Regions from separate parts of the Homo sapiens genome. Here region 2 is linked to region 1. The links are contacts of gene promoters, found by promoter capture Hi-C in human tissues and cell types (Jung and others, 2019). All regions are on one chromosome and are shown on one strand. The core of a region is centred on a gene start or on the middle of the fragment in contact, and the rest is flanking DNA. Distances in the headings are between cores, read along the strand shown. Region 1 holds the start of SNRPD1 (small nuclear ribonucleoprotein D1 polypeptide). Region 2 overlaps ESCO1 (establishment of sister chromatid cohesion N-acetyltransferase 1).

What was found. Contacts are between HindIII fragments. The study calls those that stand out against the background at their distance.
Region 2: a fragment that was not itself captured here is called in contact with the fragment with the promoter of SNRPD1 in region 1 in 1 of the 25 tissues and cell types used here (dorsolateral prefrontal cortex).

The regions. Positions count from the first base shown.
Region 1 is chr18:21,610,847-21,614,396 of GRCh38, reverse strand. It overlaps SNRPD1 (small nuclear ribonucleoprotein D1 polypeptide), which reads right to left and starts at 2,083. Exons shown (of 4, transcript NM_006938.4): 1 at 1,954-2,083. The coding sequence starts at 1,967. RefSeq lists an enhancer at 1,935-2,024 and a silencer at 2,285-2,334. The HindIII fragment of the contact is 13,798 bases long and covers 1-3,550 here.
Region 2 is chr18:21,561,910-21,565,514 of GRCh38, reverse strand. ESCO1 (establishment of sister chromatid cohesion N-acetyltransferase 1) reads left to right here. Exons shown (of 12, transcript NM_052911.3): 7 at 1,198-1,312. Among named protein-coding and RNA genes, the nearest start is that of ESCO1, 37 kb to the left of the region's middle. The HindIII fragment of the contact is 5,082 bases long and covers 1-3,605 here.

The DNA.
Region 1 (3,550 bases), core at 834-3,333:
CATAACATGCAGTATCTTTAAAGGGAACAAATGGAATCCAAGGTGTATTACACAAAATTGAACTATGAGTGGATTAAGATTCAGATTGGCAGGTATGGAGAAATTTCAAAAAATGTAATTTTCTTTTTTTGAGACCGAGTCTCACTCTGTTGCCCAGGCTGGAGTGCAGTGGTGCGATCTCAGCTCACTGCAACCTCCCAGGATCAAGTGATCCTCTTACCTCAGCCTCCTGAGTAGCTGGGATTACAGGCGCCCGCCACCATGCCCGGCTAATTTTTGTATTTTTTCGAAAGAATGGGTTTCACCACGTTGGCCAGGCAGGTCCTGAACTCCTGACCTCAGGCGATCCGCCTGCCTCAGCCTCCCAAAGTGTTGGGATTACAGGCGTGAGCCACCACGTCCAGCCTAAAAAATGCACTTTAAATTCTATGACTTCCTATCCAAAGTTATAGTTCAAATAAAAATATACCAAAAATTAACCTTAAATGTCTTTTGTACCAACTCCTCCCTGAATATAATTTTTTTTTTTTTTTTTTTTTTTTGAGATGGAGTCTCGCTCTGTCGCCCAGGCTGGAGCGTAGTGCCACGATATCGGCTCACTGCAACCTCTGCCGCCTGGGTTCAAGCGATTCTCCTGCCTCAGCCTCCTGAGTAGCTGGGATTAAAGGCGCGCGCCACCACGCCCCACTAACTTTTGTAATTTTCGTAGAGACGGGGTTTCACCATGTTGGTCAGGCTGGTCTCGAACTCCTGACCTAGTGATCCACCCGCCTTGGCCTCCCAAAGTGCTGGGATTACAGACGTGAGCCACTGCGCCTGGCCTCCTCCCTGAGTGTTGAAGGCTTTTATGTGTTATTTAAAACGTTTCAAACAAACGTTACTTCAGACGTTATCTACTTGTCTGTCATCCCCACTAACCAGAAAACTCCAACAAGGCAGGTACTCTGCCTTTTAAAAAATCCTATTACCAGCGCCTAGTATGTAACAGGTGCCCAATAACTATTTAGCGGATATTGACAATCCTTGACTCAACAGGAAAAAAACAAGCTAAATATTTATAATTGCTGGCTTAGCTATTAGAAACGTCTGCCTCTGTTCCAGGCTTAGTCTCAAGGAAAAACACCAAAACCAAATCTACTTGCAGGTAGTTTAGAATTATTCACATCAGCAAACAAGTTTTCAGAAGACTCACCTAACTGACAGGGTCTATTTATTTCTTAAGAAATAAAACAGGAGAACTATATATTATCTGAGTAATCAGCCACAATTACGTTGTGATAATTTCTGCCCTATATTGGGAGATTTTCCTAAATAAAAAGCCTACCTTAAAGGGAAATAGAGGTGGAATAATCAATCACAAATCTAAGGAGGATAAAAAGGTAAACTTAAAAATCGGCCGGGCACGGTGGCTCAAACCTGTAATCTCAGCCCTTTGGAAGGGCGAGGCGGGCAGAAAGCTTGAGCCCAGGAGTTCGAGACCAGCCTGGTCAACAAAGTGAGACACCATCTTTATTTAAAAAAACAAAAACTTGTGAAGCCGGAAGTCCTTCTCTGATTTAAAATATTTTGCAAACAGGTTTGTTTCCAGATAAGCTCATACAGCTTTCTAAGTACTGTTAAGCAGGACTGGGGAGTTCCACTCAAAAAGAAAATGAGTAACTGTAAGAGGGAGATGTGTCCCAGGAGGCGCTGCATCTTTAAAGCCTCTAAGTCACTAGGCAGGAAGAAAAGGCTCGGCCTTTATACCAATCTCTTGGAAGACACGCGGGATCCGCGAGCGACCCAGGCGGAAGCCCAGGCCCGAGCACGAGCTGCGGGCGCAGTAAGGCCGGCCGTTAGCAGGCCGCGCACACGCGGCTTTCCCGCCTCCTGCAAATGGGAGAGCCCAGCCTTCCGGACTCCGGGCCAAGCCCTCCCTTCACAGCCCCCAGAGCTGCTTGGTCACTCCCTCACCTCACGAGCTTCATCCTAGCGGCGCCGTCACCCTCTGGGTCCGACAGCACACAGAATCCTTCAACCGAACACTGACCGACTGCAGTATGAATGGCCGGAAGCGCCTACTCCAGGGGCTCCGGACGTCAAGAGCGCGCGGAGCACTGCAGGCGCATGGCGGAAACGCCGAGGCTGCGCTGGGCCGCACTCTCTTCCGGCCGCGAGGAGCGCGACTGCGGCCCCTGGCGGCTGGAGGTTGCCTTGCGACGGCTGAGGGTATCGAGGGCTGGTCTTGGAGAAAAATGTCCTACAAGAGAGGGAGATTCGAAGAGATTAAATCCAATTAATAGGACTGTCGCATTTTGGGAGGCCGAAGCGGGGGTATCACCTGAGGTCAGGAGTTCAAGACCAGCCTGGCCAACAGGGTGAAACCCCCGTCTCTACTAAAAAGACAAAAAATTAGCTGGGCGTGGTGGCGGGCGCATGTAATCCCAGCTACTCGGAAGGCTGAGGCAGGGGAATCGCTTGAACCCGGGAGGCGGAGGCTGCAGTGAGCGGAGATCGCACCACTACACTCCTGCCTGGGCAACAAGAACGAAACTCCGTCTCCCAAAAAAAAAAAAAAAAAAAAAAAGTACTGTCACCATCACGTTTCTGAACAGCAGGGCACTGTGAGTGCAGCACCTAATACAAATTCCTCACTGAACGGAAAGAAGGTCTTAGAGAAGCCCAAAGTCTTATGCTGATTCTGTTCCAACACCAGGAACCTAGCATTGCTTACTGTACCTGAAGCAAATCACACAATGGGCCAGGCGCTGTGGCTCAAGCCTGTAATTCCAGCACTTTGGGAGGCCGAGGCGGGCAGATAGCGAGGTCAAGAGATCGAGACCATTCTGGCCAACATGGTGAAACCCCGCCTCTACTAAAAATACAAAAATTAGCGGGGCGTGGTGATGCGCGCCTGTAGTCCCAGCTATTCGGGAGGCTGAGGCAGGAGAATCGCTTGAACCCAGGAGGTGGAGGTTGCAGTGAGCTGAGATCGTGCCACTGCACTCCAGCCTGGCAACAGAGCGAGACTCCGTCTCAAAAAATAATAATAATAAAAATAAAATCCACAATGTAGCAGATTATTTTCACTTTAAGTTCCAATCTATAAGACAAACTTTTCAGTCTTCATCTTTCTCAACATCTCATCAAAATATATATATTTTTTATTTTTTTGAGATGGAGTCTCACTCTGTCGCCCAGGCCGGAGTGCAGTAGCGCGATCTCAGCTCACTGCAACCCTTGCCTCCCGGTTTCAAGCCATTCTCGTGCCTCAGCCTCTCCAGTAACTGAGATTACAGGCGCGCATCACCATGGCCCGCTAATTATCGTCTTTTTATGTATGTATGTATGTACGTACGTATGTATGTATTTTGAGACAGAGTCTCCCTCTGTCGCCCAGGCTGTAGTGCAGTGGCGCGATCTCGGCTCACTGCAAGCTCCGCCTTCCGGGTTCACGCTATTCTCCTGCCTCGGCCTCCCAAGTAGCTGGGACTACAGGCGCCAGCCACCACGCCCGGCTAATTTTTTTGTATTTTTAGTAGAGACGGGGTTAGCCAGGATGGTTTCGATC
Region 2 (3,605 bases), core at 379-2,878, 48 kb after region 1:
TATCTTTGCTTACTTGTGTGTCTGTATCTCATAGCTATAGAACTTATCCCGCATTGTCAGACTTTCCTCCAAAGTGGTTGGCCTGTCTCAATAGTGTTTGAGAATGCCCTTTTCCCTAGACTTCTAGAAATACTAGGTATTAGCAACATGTAAGAGTGTTTAAGTAAGATTAAAAGCTTTTTGTTTTCTTTTTAATGTCAGAATTAAATAGATCTGACTTATTTTGCCTTTTGGATTAACAACAAACAGTATTTAGTACAAATTGGAATGACTTAGATAGCTAAAACTATAAAACTTAAAAGCATATTCAAACTGTGGTAAGTGTTGCCTTTTTTTTACTGAAAATTAGTTTTTGTTTTTTTACTGAAAATTAGTTTTTGTTTTTTTACTGAAAATTAGTAATTTTCTTTCCCCCTTTATTTTTATTATTATTATTTTTTGAGACGGAGTCTCGCTCTGTCGCCAGGCTGGAGTGCAGTGGCGTGATTTCGGCTCACCGCAACCTCCGCCTCCCAGGTTCAAGCAATTCTCCTGCCTCAGCCTCCTGAGTAGCTAGGACTACAGGCACACGCTGCCACACCTGGCTAATTTTTATTTTATTTATTTATTTTTATTTTAGTAGAAACGGGGTTTCACCGTGTTGCCCAGGCTGGTCGCGATCTCCTGAGCTCAGGCAATCTGCCTGCCTTGGCCTCTCAAAGTGCTGGGATTTTATAGGCATGAGCCACCATGCCAGGCCTGCTCCTTGATTTTTAAAAGGTTTTTCTCCCTCTCTTGAAGCTGAAATTTATCAGCGTTGTGTAGAAAATAAGTTATTTTTGCCGGGCGCGGTGGCTCACGCCTGTAATCCCAGCACTTTGGGAGGCTGAGGCAGGCGGATCACGAGGTCAGGAGATCGAGACCATCCTGGCTAACATGGTGAAACCCCGTCTCTACTAAAAATACAAAAAAAAAAAATTAGCTGGGCGTGGTGGCTGGCACCTGTAGTCCCAGCTACTCAGGAGGCTGAGGCAGGAGAATGGCATGAACCCAGGAGGCAAAGTTTGCAGTGAGCCAAGATTGCGCCACTGCACTCCAGCCTGGGCGACAGAGTGAGACTTCGTCTCAAAAAAAAAAAGAAAATAAGTTATTTTTTCCCCTTCAAATGATGTGAAATGACTTGGATCTGTAACATTTAGTAATTTTATTTTTTTTAAGGGAGACACCACGAAATCATTCTTTGCCTAAGTGTAATTCCCATTTGGAGATAACAATTCCAAAGGACTTGAAACTAAAAGAAGCAGAGAAAACTGATGAAAAACAGTTGATTATAGTAAGTACACAACTTGACCATTTTGGTGAATTGTTGTTAGAACCATCTTAGTATATTTCATGTTGCTATAATACGATATCTGAGGTTGGTAATTTTTATAGAAAAGAGGTTTATTTGGCTTGTGGTTCTATGGCCTGACATCTGCATCTGGTGAGGGTGGCAGATTGCTTCAACTTATGGAGGAAAGCAGAAAGGGAGTGAGCTCATGTGCAGAGAGACCACGTGGTAAGGGAGGAAGCAAGAGAGAGAAACCAAGGAAGCCAGACTCTTTTTTTTTTTTTTTAACCCTGCTCACCCCAGCAGGAGGGCATTTGAGGGCATTAACCTATTTGTGCGGGATTCACCTCTAAGACGCAAACATATCTCACTAAGCCCCACCTCCAAACACTGTCACATTGGACATCAAATTTCCCCATAAATTTTGGTGGAGACAAATCAAATCATATCAAAATCATAGCAGCATTGTATTTATGCAAGGTTTTAAAGAATAAATTCATTCACTTTTGCCAAAGAGCCTTTTTGTCATAATAAATTTTAGTATGAAAAATGTTCCCAGGCCAGGTGCAGTGGCTCATGCCTATAATCCCAGCACTTTGGGAGGCCAAGGTGGGTGGATCACCTGAGGTCGGGAGTTTGAGACCAGCCTGGCCAGCATGGTGAAATCCTGTCTCTACTAAAAATGCAAAAATTAGCCAGGCGTGGTGGCAGATGCCTGTAATCCCAGCTACTTAGGAATCTGAGGCAGGAGAGTCGCATGAACCTGGCAGGCAGAGGTTGCAGTGAGCTGAGATGGTGCCATTGCACTCCAGCCTGGGCAACAGAGCGAGACTCTGTCTCAGAAAAATATTCCTGGTGTTATTACAACCCCCTTCTTAAATAGTGACTTTGTCTTGTAACAGTAATTGTTTTCATACTTCTAGTTTTATAACAAATTGTGATACTTTATTTCACATCTGTTACTTTCTTAGATTTGTCATTTGATCACTACCTCCTTTCAGTAGTTGATTTAAATGTTAAAATAACATGGAACTTGTCCAGGTGCAGTGGCTCACGCCTGTAATTCCAGCACTTTGGGAGGCCGAAATGGGCGGATCACCTGAGGGTGGGAGTTCAAGACCAGCCTGACCAACACCGAGAAAGCCCATCTCTACTAAAAATACAAAATTAGCTGGGCGTGGTGATTCGTTCCTATAATCCCAGCTGCTCGGGAGGCTAAAACAGGAGAATCCCTTGAACTCGGAAGGTGGAGGTTTCGGTGAGCTGAGATCATGCCATTGCACTCCAGCCTGGACAACAAGAGCGATACTCCATCTCAAAAAAAAAAAAAATAATAACATGGAACTTAATGTATAAAATGATTTTGAATATCTATATTGCAGAATACATTATTATTTTAAAGTTACATTTTAAATTACAGGAAGATAAATTGGAAAACAGGAGATATTTTGATTGATTAAAAATCTAACTTGAATGAGTGAATATAAAAAAATTAAGGCACCCAAAGTACTAGGAACATTTATGTAGTTACAGTCAACATAATCAGTAGGATTTTTTTTTTTTTAAGATAGGGTCTCATGCTGTCACCCAGGCTAGAGTGCAATGGTGTGATCACAGCTCACTTGCAGCCTCAACCTCCCAGCCTCAAGTGATCCTCTCACCTCAGCCTGCTGAATAGCTGGGACTAACAGACATGCGTCACCACACACAGCTAATTGTTAATTTTTTTTTTTTTTTTGTAAGACGGAGTCACCCAGGCTGGAGTGCAGTGGCACAATCTTGGCTCACTGCAACCTCTGCTTCCCAGGTTCAAGTGATTCTCCTGCCTCAGCCTCCCTAGTAGCTGGGTTTACAGGCACGCACCACCGTGCCTGGCTATTTGTTGTATTTTTAGTAGAGATGGGGTTTCACCATGTTGGCTAGGCTGGTCTTGAACTCCTGACCTCGTGATCCAGAGTGCTGGGATTACAAGCGTGAGCCACCTCAGGTGGCCCCCCAGACTTTTAAGACATTAAAAAATGGAATGGATTGGGTGCGGTGGCTCATGCCTGTAATCCTAGCACTTTGGGAGGCCGAGGCAGGTGGATCACCTGATGTCAGGAGTTTGAGACCAGCCTGGCCAACATGGCAAAACCCGGTCTCTATTAAAAGATATAAAAATTAGCTGGGCATGTTGGTGGGTGCCTGTAATCCCGTCTACTCAGGAGGCTGAGGCAGGAGAATCGCTTGAACCCAGGAGTGGGAGGTTGCAGTGAGCCAAGATGGCGCCACTGCACTCCAGCCTCGGTGACAGAGC